Regions from separate parts of the Homo sapiens genome. Here region 2 is linked to region 1. Evidence: promoter capture Hi-C in human tissues and cell types (Jung and others, 2019). All regions are on one chromosome and are shown on one strand. Each heading gives the region's core, a stretch centred on a gene start or on the middle of the fragment in contact. The rest is flanking DNA. Distances are from core to core; before and after follow the strand shown.

Evidence for each region. Contacts are between HindIII fragments. The study calls those that stand out against the background at their distance.
Region 2: a fragment that was not itself captured here is called in contact with the fragment with the promoter of PPP3CC in region 1 in 1 of the 25 tissues and cell types used here (bladder).

What each region holds. Positions count from the first base shown.
Region 1 is chr8:22,437,285-22,443,520 of GRCh38, reverse strand. It overlaps PPP3CC (protein phosphatase 3 catalytic subunit gamma), which reads right to left and starts at 2,443. Exons shown (of 14, transcript NM_005605.5): 1 at 2,063-2,443. The coding sequence starts at 2,111. RefSeq lists silencers at 1,921-2,580, 2,671-2,860. The HindIII fragment of the contact is 20,414 bases long and covers 21-6,236 here.
Region 2 is chr8:22,404,464-22,410,699 of GRCh38, reverse strand. It overlaps SLC39A14 (solute carrier family 39 member 14), which reads right to left. Exons shown (of 9, transcript NM_001128431.4): 2 at 5,720-6,004; 3 at 2,204-2,390. The coding sequence starts at 5,989. Among named protein-coding and RNA genes, the nearest start is that of PPP3CC, 33 kb to the left of the region's middle. The HindIII fragment of the contact is 6,539 bases long and covers 1-6,236 here.

The DNA of each region.
Region 1 (6,236 bases), core at 1,194-3,693:
TAGAGAGAGTTTCACTCTGTTGCCCAGACTGGAATGCAGTGGCACCATTTTGGCTCACTGCAACCTCCGCCTCCCGGGTTCAAGCAATTCTCGTGCCTCAGACTCCCAAGTAGCTGGGATTACAGTGCCCGCCACCATGCCCAGCTAATTTTTGTATGTTTAGTAGAGATGGAGTTTCGCCATGTTGGCCAGGCTGGTTTCGAACTCCTGACCTCAGTGATCTGCCTATATGGGCCTTCCAAAGTGCTGGGGTTACAGGCGTGAGCCACCATGCCTGCCCCTAGCCCCTGCATTTTAACTTTTTTATTTTATTACATTTTATTTTACAATATTTATTACTATATTTAAGGGTCATTTAAGATTTTTAATCTTCTTTTGATCTTATGGCATGTTATGGTGGAAATTACATGGCACAATGGTGATTTGATTGTGAGATTCCTGAGGGCTGCACTAAGCTTCACTAAGATCCTATTTATTCTGACTTGACCCACAGTTCTGGCTTATCTGGTTTCCCTGCCTACTTCAGCTAAGACGTAGCAGATTAGAAAGCAGTTAAGGGCATATTTTGACAGAAAACAGTACTGGAGAGAGAAACTAAAAGCAAACAAAACACTGAACTGGTATAGCATTGCGAAGTCATTTTAGTACAGGACGAAACTGCTAACAACTTTATACAGCAGAACGCACCGGCCATATTAACAGCACAGTACAGAAATTAATGTACATAATGACCTTGATTCCTCAAAAAAGGTTATGTTAAGTACACTCTGAATCTTAAGAGAGGGCTATATACTTCTTATAGGCTATACACTAATAATATGAAGACACATTTAAATGGTCACAATAATTTAGCTGTTCAGGGGATAATGTCAGTTAGATGAACAATTCAGTTAAACCTCTAACGATAGCATACAAATGCTAAGCAGATAAATCTCAAAAATCCCATTATAATTATGTAGTACAGATAATTAACATTTATGAGGCTGATTTGGGGAGAGAGGGGGGAAACCTAAGTTATACACTAAAATTCTTCCCCCTCCCTGAACATGCAATAAGGCGTTTCACCTTTTAAAAATGTATTCCCGTCACTAGTATTAGTTGCCTTTCTCCTTCTAATACCAAAATGAAAAAGAAGAAAAGTATCTTAATAATTTTCCCCACTGTCACGCTAACCCCTGCATCCAGAGGCCACTAACACAGCTGGTCTAAGTCTATTCCCTTCTTACAAAATAGCGCTTTCAAACCGATTGTTAATCTCAGAGAGAAGGGTTGTGCCTAAGACTTACGGCTGAATAAAAGCAGCACATAAATTAGTGGTTATGTGTAATCCATCTTCTTAGTTTAAAGGGAGAAACAACTATAACCTAAAACTCTACAAGATTTAGAGAGCAAAGAGCCCTTTACATTTTGTTCTTATAACAACAACAGAAATCTAACGCAGGTACACATATGAATCAGAAAACGTCATTCTCCAAGTCTTTATAACCAAAGGGAAAATAAAATACCATTACCCTGTCAAGAGCTCCGTAAACTTATTTTAAACATCATATAATGGATTTATCTGACTTGTTCATACTAAGTTTATTCCAGTAATAGCAGTGACTTGCAATGATCTAGAGAAAGCGGGTCAAAAGGCACATGGTATACGTCCTAAAAAAGGGTGGGGGGCGGACGTCAAGAAAGATCTAATCTTAAATATCTTACTTGGAAGAGTCGACTCCCTGCTCACACCACCCCCGATGGCTTCCCCCGAGTCGTTTCTTAAAGAGAAAAAAAGACAGGGATCCGGGCCCTTCGGGGCGGTGGGAGAAGAAGTCCCCACTGCACCCTGAACCCTTCGGGAGGGAACTTGGCACTGACGGCCAGGCACCTGACCAGGTGCAGCAGAAAACGCCGGGTCCGGGTGGCTGCTCTCGGAGGCTGCCGCCCGGCTCTGTCTACACCCCTCCGAGCCCTCCTAGGGTGGGCGCAGCCCGGCCCCAGCCTCCCTCCGCCCCGAGCCGCCGCCCAGCCGAAGGCCGTTTCCCGCGGGTCCCAGAGGAAGGCCCGGCCCGCCAGGCACCTTTGATGACGCGGTCGGTGGTGGAGAGGTGGAAGCGCCTCCCGGACATGGTCCCCTCGGCCTCCTCCAGGCTCCAGGAGCCCGCCGGACGTGCGCCTACGCCGCGGCCGCCGCCTTCTCCTCGGGCAGCCTTAGCTGCCCGGAGCCGTCAGCCAGCCGTGCCCGGCCCCGGCTCCTCAGCGGTGTCCGAGCACCAGAAGGGCGCGGCCACCGCAGCGCCGGCCTCCGACGCCACTGACAGGACGAGGGCCCACCGGCCGCTCTCTTGGGAGGCGCCAGCGGCTAAGGCGGGGAACACCGCTTCGGCACCGACCGCGACCGCTGCTAAGGGTGGCGACCGGGACGGCCGCGGCTGCTCGCGGCCCGGGCCCTCGTGCACGCAAGCGCGCCCCCGAGCGCCGCTCTCACAACTTCCCAGCGGCCCCGCTGTCCTAGCGGACCCGGCCGGGCCTCCCGCCCCGAGCGCCGCCCTCCCCACCCTTCCGCCTTCCCGCGAGGCAGTAGAGCTCGGCGCACGCGCTGCTCTCGGCTCCTCCGGCTCCGGGTCCCTGCTGCTAACCGCCCATTTTCGCTTCTTCTCAGCCAGCCCTCCCCGCAGCCGGCCCCTTCTCTCCTGCCAGCCCCTACCCGGGCCCGGAACATCTGAAACCCGCCCGCGTGGCCCGCGCGACCCGCGCGGGAGGCCGGCCCGGCCATCTTGCGACCCGGCCCTGCGGCCTCGCAGCGGCTCCGCGCCGCCTCCTGGGACCGCCTCGCCGAGAACCCCTGGCCTCCCAGTCCTCGCCCACAGGCGACCACCCTCCTCACCTCTGGGTCTCCCACCCGCTTTGTCTCAAGGAGTGTGATCAGTCCGGCCGCGCTCCTTCAGTTTTTGTGGGTCATTCAACAAACGCACACATTTAAACCCCCTCGCTTCATCTTTCCCGCTTGTTGAGTGCAGTTAGTACAATGAGAAGGACATTCGTGTCCATCCTAGTTCCAGTCCAGTAGCTAGGGCGGTGGGGGATTGGGGGAGCTCCGTTTCTGAGCAAGGCTCTGCTCCCTCCTCACTTTCCACATCGAAGAGAAGGGAGATCTCTGCTCCTGGGACCCCCGGGCCGGACCTCCTCGGCCACAAGAACTGACCTCTTCCTATGCCCTGTGTGTCACCTGCCCAGCTAGAAGCCCCTTTTTTCTTCCCCCTGACACAGTACCTGCCTCCCCGGCCCAGGCTCACTGTGGAACCCCATGGGCAAGTCCGTAGAAACTTAACAGTCTGTTCATCTCGAGGTTAAAAACTAACCTTTATCTGTCCTTAAAACTGTAAGCCTAGAACAGAAACTGGCTCCAACTGTCCTCTCACTGAGTAACTGGCAAAGTCAAAAGGATTTTGACTTTTAGCAATGCAAATGAAATATTGAAACTGATGTCCAATAAAACATATGCAAGTTACAGGCAAAACCAGTCTTAACAATTACCGCAGTGACCGATAAGTAGTTGTAGCTATGTAAATTTAAATTAATCCCGTTCCTCTAGGGGACTAGCCACATTTCAAGTGTTCAAGAGCTACACGCGGCTACCTTATTGGACATCCAGAAAATTCTACTGGACAGCTGTTAGGTAAAAGATTATAGGATTAAGCGTAAATCTCCAATAATATGGATTTATGTATAGGCGGTCTGGGGATATATAGTGGAATCAGACCCTGAATTATCCCTTGGAATTTTGACCATAGCTCTTTGATGGTAACCGCAGGAGGCAAAAGGACTTTAGGAGCCGACTAGAATTTGGTTTTCGTTTTCATGATCCTTGAGTCTTCCACCCAAGAGAATTGTTCAGATATCCTGGGGAAACTCTTCATTTAAGAAGTAACCAGAACTCCACGCCTATCAAATCATACCCCTGGGTCAGAGGCTAAAATTCATCTGGAAGAACCTCAACAGGATAGCTAAAAATAAAAAGTTTAAGAAAACATTGCGGGCCGGCAAAAAAGAAAAAAAAAAAGACCGGGTGGGGTGGCTCACGCCTGTAATCCCAGCACTTTGGGAGGCCGAGGTGGGTGGATCACGAGGTCAGGAGATCGAGGCCATCCTGGCTAACACGGTGCAACCCCGTCTCTACTAAAAATACAAAAAATTAGCCGGGCGTGGTGGCAGGCGCCTGTAGTCCTAGCTACTTGGAAGACTAAGGCAGGAGAATGGCGTGAACCCGGGAGGCGGAGCTTGCAGTGAGCCGAGATCGCGCCACTGCACCACTCCAGCCTGGGCAATAGAGCGAGACTCCGTCTCAAAAAAAAAATAAAATAAAGAAAGAAAGAAGGAAAGAAAGAAAAAACATTGCGGGCCGGGCAAGGTGGCTCACGCCTGTAATCCCAGCACTTTGGGAGGCCAAGGCAGGCGGATCACCTGAAGTCAGGGGTTTGAAAACAGCCTGGCCAACGTGGTGAAACCCCGTCTCTACTAAAAATACAAAAATTAGCCTAGCGTGGTGGCACATGCCTGTAATCCCAGCTACTCGAGAGGCTGAGGGAGGAGAATCGCTTGAATCCGGGAGGCGGAGGTTCCAGTGAGCCAAGATTACGCCCCGGCACTCCAGCCTGGGTGACAGAGCGAGACTGTCTCCAAAAAGAAAAAAAGAAAAAGAAAACGTTGCAGGCCGGGCACAGTGGCTAATGCCTGTAATCCCAGCACTTTGGAAGGCTGAGGTGGGCGAATCACCTGAGGTCACGAGTTTGAGACCAGCCTGGCCAACGTGGCAAAAACTCATCTCTGCTAAAAATACAAAAATTAGCTGGGCGTGGTGGTGGACGCCTGTAGTCCCAGCTACTCGGGACGCTGAGGCAGGAGAATCGCTCGAACCCGGGAGGCGGAGGTTGCAGAGAGCCAAGATGGTGCCACCGCATTCCAGCCTGGGCACAGAGACAGACTCCATCTATCTCAAACACAAAACCAAAAAACCCCACAAATACTAACTCGTTCAATCCTCACACCAACCCCATTTATATGATTATCCCCATTTTACAGATAAGGAAACTGAGGCACAGAGATGTGAAGAAACTTGCCCAAAGTCACAGAGCTGGTAGGAGGCTTAGTGAACACCATCATCGTCAAGAGACGTGCAGTACCTGAACTTTTTCTATAGCACCACGAACTTTTTCTATAGCACCACGTGGAATATGCGGCATGAGTCCTCAAGCATGGTATACATGAATTTACAGAATCCAGATGTCATTCTGTAGCTTGGCTTTAGCAAAGTAATTGTGAGCAACTTGCAGCCCTGTCCCTTCGTGTCCCCACCCCCACTTTTTTTTTTTTTTTTTTTTGAGACGGAGTCTCGCTCTGTCACCAGGCTGGAGAGCAGTGGCGTGATCTCAGCTCACTGCAAACTCCACCTCCTGGGTTCAAGTGATTCTCCTTCCTCAGCCTCCCAAGTAGCTGGGACTACAGTCGCATGCCACCACACCCAGCTAATTTTTTTGTATTTTTAGTATTTTTAGTAGAGATGGGGTTTCACCATGTTGGCCAGGGTGGTCTCGATTTCCTGACCTCGTGATCTGCCCGCCTCGGCCTTCCCCACCCCTTTCTAAGGAGATTCACTCAGTAGCTCTGCCTTTCTCCAAGTTCCTTGCTGGTCCTCTGTTTCAATAGCTGCTTAGTCTTCCAGCAACAGCCAGTGACACCCAACAGACCTTGATACCATCACTTCCAGCTGTGGGCATGGGTAAGTTCCTTCACTTCTCAGGCCTTGCTTTCCTCTTTTGTAATATGGGGATGATAATATTAATAGGCCCTCCCTGTAGCAGAGGCGGGGATGCCCTGCCCAGATCCCCTTCACCATGAGGGATAACCATCTTCTGGTTGCTGCTGTTTTTGTTTTTGTTTTTGTTTTTGTTCTAAGAGAGAGATGAGGTCTTGCTCTGTTGCCCAGGCTGGAGTGAAGTGGTGCCATCATAGCTCACTGAAGCCTTGAACTGCTGGGCTCAAGTGATCCTCCTGCATCGGCCTCTCAAAGTACTGGGATTATAGGCATGAGCTACCGTACTCTGCCTGTTTCTTGAGGGCTGGTGGCTGACAGTTCATTGCTGCCCCTTCTCCAGAGAATTGCCTTAGGTTGAATGGGCGCCCCTTCCCCTAAGGAGTTATGACCATCCCTCCCCCAGTCCTAGGGGCAATGGCTATCAGGGCCTCCAGGTCAG
Region 2 (6,236 bases), core at 1,775-4,274, 33 kb after region 1:
GTACAAAGGGCTGAGTGCCCCTTCCATTTATCTTGTCATTTTAATTTTGTTTGGTCTTAGTCTTTGTTCTGTGTTTGGCTCTCTATGCTAGAAACGATGGCCTGCTCAAAATTAAAGAACACTCGCTTTTTAGGCCAATTCTACATATCACTTGGTAACCTCTTTTCCTTCCATCTCATTCCAGATGGATAAGCTCTTGGTGCCCAGACCTGAGTACTGCCAGGATTTCTCCTTAGAATAGAGCAAGTACTTAGCACCAAAGGCATGGACGGCAGTCGATAGCTGCTGCTTTCCCTTGATGCCTTATGTATGGGGCTTAACAAGGGAGGGGAGACTGTCAAGTCCCCAGGAGGAGGGAAATTGGAAGAACCTTGCATCTGACAGCACCTGCAGAGGCCAGAGGAGTGAGAGGTGGGCCCTGAGATCCAGAGTTAGAAGTCGTTTGTGGCTTTGATACGAGGGACAGGTTCATTTCTCAGGTGGCAGTCATTGGGTGCCTTGGAGCCCAGGGTAGGGGAGGAGGGGATTGGCTCAGCTGTGCCGCCCCAGGGAAAGAGGACGCGCAAGTTTCTGTTCTACTGCACCTCTGGGATGAGCTGGAATAGCGCGTTAGACAGCAGCGTTCCAATGGACAGGGCGATGAAGTAAGTGAGCACACGGCTGAAAAACGCTTTCTCTGTGCAGGGCAGGACGAGGACTCCCAGGAGAGAGGCCAGGTTAATCAGTGAGACACTGAGAAAACCAAAGCCCCACACTGTGGAGGAACAAGAACAGACGAGGGCCTCTATTACTGAGGGTGGGGACACTCCTGCTGCCTGGGGCGGCCCTGTTCTGAATTCAGGTGTGATGGGGCAGACTGAGATCCACCAACCCATCAGTAAACATTTGCTGAGTCCATCTCTCACCAGATGCTGCGGAGAAGCCTAGGGAAACTATCAAAATTGCTATCCAAGAGAAACACCTTTTCCATGGAGAGACGGATGCAAACAGCAATGGAAGCCTAAAAACCATACAAGTAGGCCAGGTGCGGTGGCGCAAGCCTATAATCCCAGCACTTTGGGAGGCTGAGGAAGGTGGATCACCTGAGGTCAGGAGTTCGAGACCGGCCTGACTAACATGGTGAAACCCCATCTCTACTAAATACAAAAAATTAGCTGGGCGTGGTGGCGCGTGCCTGAAATCCCAGCTACTCAGGAGGCTGAGGCAGGAGAATCGCTTGAACCCAGGAGGCGGAGGTTGCAGTGAGCCGAGATTGCACCACCGCACTTCAGCCTGGGCAACAAGAGCGAAAGTCTGTCTCAAAACAAACAAACAAAAAAAACAAAAAAAGCCATACAAGTAAATAACGACAGCAGAAAACAGGGACTTGCAGTAACACAGACAGTATATTCCGGGTGCCGACACTCAGGCAGCACACGCCGGCCCTATGGGGCTTAGGGCTATCAGGGTGTACACTCACAGCTCGTGGCAAGCCCACTGTGGCTGGATCAGGGATACCGGGATAGGGAGGGGAAGAAGGATTCAGGGGCCAAGTGCAGCCTCCGGGAGGTCTTAAAGGAAAAACTATAAAACCAAAGTAGGCCAGGTATGGTGGCTCATGCCTGTGATCCCAGCACTTTGGGAGGCCGAGGCAGGAGGATCACTTGAGCCCAGGAGTTTGAGACCAGCCTGGGTAACATAGTGAGACCGTGTCTCTACAAAAAATTTAAAAATTAGCTGGGCATGGCGGTGCACGCCTGTAGTCCCAGCTACTCAGGAGGCTGAGGCAGGAGGGTCACTTCAGGCCAAAAGGTCAAGGCTGCAGTGAGCTATGATTGCACCACTGGACTCCAGCCTCGGAGACAGAGCGACATCCTATCTCAGAAAAAAAAAAAAAAAAGATTAAAAAAGCCAAAGGGTTGGGCCCCCGTGGTTCAACATGAAACAAAAAGCAGACCAAAAAGGGATCCATAGGCCGCTCAAGAAGTCCAACGCTCTGAACATTCGCCAGCTACGGCCCAGGAGTCTGACAATGTGCTAGGCCATCCTTGCAAAATACAAAAATTATCCATCCAATCATCGCTCCCGCTCCTGACACCGACAACCTCATCCTGGTCATCACTGGTGAGGCATTCAGTGAGGAGCAGCAGCAGCTCAGCCCAGGGGTCCTTGTGAGACGCGGGCGAGATGGGAGATGGGCTCCTGCCTTCCTGGCCTGGCTCACCTTCAACAGCGCTTGGCCGCCCCTCCTCCGTCTGCTCATTCTCCTCGTTTTCCTGGTTCTCCGAGGTGCAGGCCCGGGAATCCAGCTGCTGGAGGATGGTGGGGCAGAACTCCTGGAGCTCGCTGCTCCCAATCCGCGACTGCTCGCTGAAATTGTGGGCAGTGAAGAGGTCTCCAGAACTAAAGCACTGAAACACAGGAAGGGCAGGAAGCCGCTTAGACCCCAAAGGTCAGGCCTTGCCCTGCTAAACAGCAACCTACTCAGCCTTCCCAGAGGAAAAAGAGAAGACAGAAATGTCCAAATTTCAGGGAATTTGTAGATTCATCTAGTCTAGGGATGAGGGCAAGGTATTCCCTAAACTTAAAAAACTAGTAACTAATCCTTATGGCTCAGCCAGCCAGGAAAGTTACACATCATAAGCACAACCGTCGGTAAATGAGTGCCTGAGAAACTTTGGGAATGACAAGATTCCAATCATTGTCACCAAAGTGGCAGGGCACGGTGGCTAACACTGTAATCCCAGCACTTTGGAAGGCCAAGGCAGGCGGATCACTTGAGGACAGAAATTGGAGACCAGCCTGGGCAACATGAGACCCCTTCTTTACAAAAAGTTGAAAAATTAGTGAGGTGTGGCGGCACATACCTGTACTCTCAACTACTGAGGAGGCTGAGGCAGGGGGACTGCTAGAGCCCAGGAGTTGGAGGCTACAGTGAAGGAGCTATGATCACACCACTGCACTCCAGCCTGGGTGACAGAGCAACACCCTGTCTCTTAAAAAAAAAAAAAAAGCAAAATATTGTCACTAGGGTATAGTTTCTAGAAAACACCATTCTGGGGCCAGGTGCGGTGGCTCTCGCCTGTAATCCCAGCACTTTGGGAGACTCAGATGGGCAGATCACTTGAGGTCAGGAGTTCAAAACCAGCCTGGCCAACATGTTGAAGCCCCATCTCTACTAAAAATACAAAAATTAGCCGGGCGTGGTAGCTCACGCCTGTAATCCCAGCTACTCGGGAGGCTGAGGCAGGAGAATCACCTGAACCCAGGAGGTGGAGGTTGCAGCGAGCCGAGATCGCGCCACTGCACTCCAGCCTGGGCAACAGAACGAGACTCCATCCCCCACAAAACAAAAGAGAAAGAAAACACCATTCTGTGTGTGTGCCTGAAGATACAAGCTTCGTACCAAATCTGGCTGCACATCACAATAGCCCAGGGAGCTATTATGTTAAAATGCGGGTTCCAGCTACTTCTCTGAAGCTGAAATGTCTAAGGGCGGGGCTCTGCCAAAACTGTGGTGCTGCCCGATCAGCCCCACACATCCTCAACCATAGGACTGCCCTCAGCCTGAAAGACATATGTGTTCACAGAGGTTAGGGGAGGAAAACCTGAAGATTCAGGGAAGTGGGCCATGGCCGGCCAGCAGCCACCACACACAGTCACCTTGGGAGGCAGCAGGTAAGCGCTTCTCACGAACCGTTCCTGTGAAATCTGCAGCTCCACTTCTAATTATACTGTCTACACCTACATGCCAGGCCTTTTCTGAGTTCGGTCTCACATGGGCTTATCTCTGAGAGTCAGCCCTCTTGGTGTGCTCCCAAAATAAGTGCCTGCGCTTCTAAGGCTGGGGGCTGGACTCCCGCCACCCCGAGATGCTGCTGCTATCCTGGCGGGTCCTGAGGCTCACGCAGCTGCATTACCCCGCGGGGGCACGGGGGCGTGCTTGTCTCTGGCTCAGCATCTGATGTGCTCAGGTGTTCGCATCCAAGCCACGTGGTTCCCCCGTCCCTTTTTTTAATTTTTATTTTTTGAGATGGAGTCTCGCTCTGTCGCCAGGCTGGAATGCAGTGGCATAATCTCCGCTCACTGCGACCTCTGCCTCCTGGGCTCAAGCAATTCTCCTGCCTCAGCCTCCCAAGTAGCTGGGACTACAGGTATCTCCCGCCATACCCAGATAATTTTTGTATTTTTAGCAGAGACGGAGTTTCACCGTGTTAGCCAGGATGGTCTCGATCTCCTGACCTCGTGATCCACCTGCCTCAGCCTCCCAAAGTGCTGGGGTTACAGGCGTCAGCCACCGCGCCCGGCCCCGCTCCTCCCCCCCAACTTTTGAGGCCTCCACCTCCTGGGTTCAAGTGATTCTCTCACCTCAGCCTCCGGAGTAGCTGGGATTAGAGGCACCCACCACCACACCGAGCTAATTTTTGTATTTTTAGTAGAGATGGGGTTTCACTGTGTTGGCCAGGCTAGTCTCAAACTCCTGATCTCAAGTGATCTGCCTGCCTAGGCCTCCCAAAGTGCTGGGATTACAGGCGTGAGCCACAGTGCCCAGCACCCCCGTCCATTTTATCTCCACACTGCACTCATCTTTCAAGGGGCAGCTGGAGGACACCCCACGCTCGAGCCTTCCCTGATGACTGCAGCACACTCATCTCCCCCTCTCATTTCTGCATCCTACAATTACTGTCCAACCCACAAAATGCAATGCTTCATTTCAGTGCCTGCTGACTTTGTCCTCTGTTGGTTGAACTCCCCATCGTGACAGTCAACTCCCTAAATATGACTCATTTTTCTCTATTTCTCACAACACCAGCACAGGGAACAAAGTCGATATATAAAGATTTTGCTGGCTGACTTATATTTGGCTGCCACAAATAGCCCCAGAGTCTGATTAGCAGAGATGATATGGAAGAAAGAACACAGAATCCAAAGACCTGGCGTTCCAGCCCTGGTCTCTGCAGGGACTCACTGCGGGACCCTCGGTGTCCTCTCCTATAAAATGCAGATAATCTCACCTGCACCTTGAGGGACTGTGGGCTCACCCGGGATAGTGTGTAATGGACTCTGTCAATGGTAAACTCTATGAGAAATACCGTCCTGGGAGCCGTGTTTTCTCAGTATTTCTGAGTGACTCAAGTGCGGCGCTGAGGAAGATTCTGGGGGGCTGAGAACCCCACTTCCAGGCTGCCTTTTATTTTGTTTTGTTTTGAGACAGATTCTCGCTCTGTTGCCCAGGCTGGAGTGCAATGGCTCGATCTTGGCTCACTGCAACCTCCACCTCCTGGGTTCAAGCGATTCTCTTGCCTCAGCCTCCCAAGTGGCTGGGATCACAGGCATCCGCCACCATGCCTGGCTAATTCTTGTATTTCTAGTAGAGTTGGGGTTTCACCATGTTGGCCAGGCTGATCTCGAACCCCTGACCTCAGATAATCCACCCGCCTTGGCCTCCCAAAGTGCTGGGATTACAGGCGTGAGCCACTGTGCCCAGCCCCAGGCTGCCTTTTGTTAAGGGCTTCAGAACACCTATGCAGGGGGTCAGAAGGTGCTGCAGAAGACTCAGAATTTGCTGATTCAGACAATGAGAGAGAAAGAATCAGCCTGTCCACTCTATCATCGAGACTTGTCTGCCTCATCCTACCTCTGCCAAGCTGCCAGGCTGCCCTGGGCCCAACTAGACAGGGAACCCTGAGAGGCCAGAGACGGGGCTGAGCAGAGCTGCTGGCTCACAGGGGAGCCTTACCGTGGAGAGGTTCCTGTGTCCTTGCACGTGCTGGGTGACATTACCCCGGCCCACTCCCACATCCAGGTGGTTGAGTAGGGCCTTCAGCTGCTGCAGAGTGAGGCTGTCACCCTCGCCATACCGATGTATTAGATCCTGCAGGAAGGAGGCAGCGCTGATAGCTGGTGCACCCAGGGATGAAGCGTGAGCCTCAGGGGTGGTTCTCCATAAGCCAAGCAGGGTCAGCAGGAGGCAGCTCTGGAAGGCCGGGTGCAGCAGCAGCAGCTTCATGGTGACTGAATAAACCTGTGAGAGAAAAAGGCAGGTGAAGCTGAGGCCTCTCCCTGTGTGCCGGCAACTGCGCCAGGCCCGCCCGCCACACACTGAACATGTTGAGACTATCCCTCAGTCTCTGCTTCTCTGCTCCTTCTTGAATTAGCCTTTGAGAAAAACCCTTCTTTTGAAAGCACAGAATAAAAACGAATAAAAAGGACAAATTCAACAGTTTTGACTAGATTGAAAAATGAAAAAAAAAAAA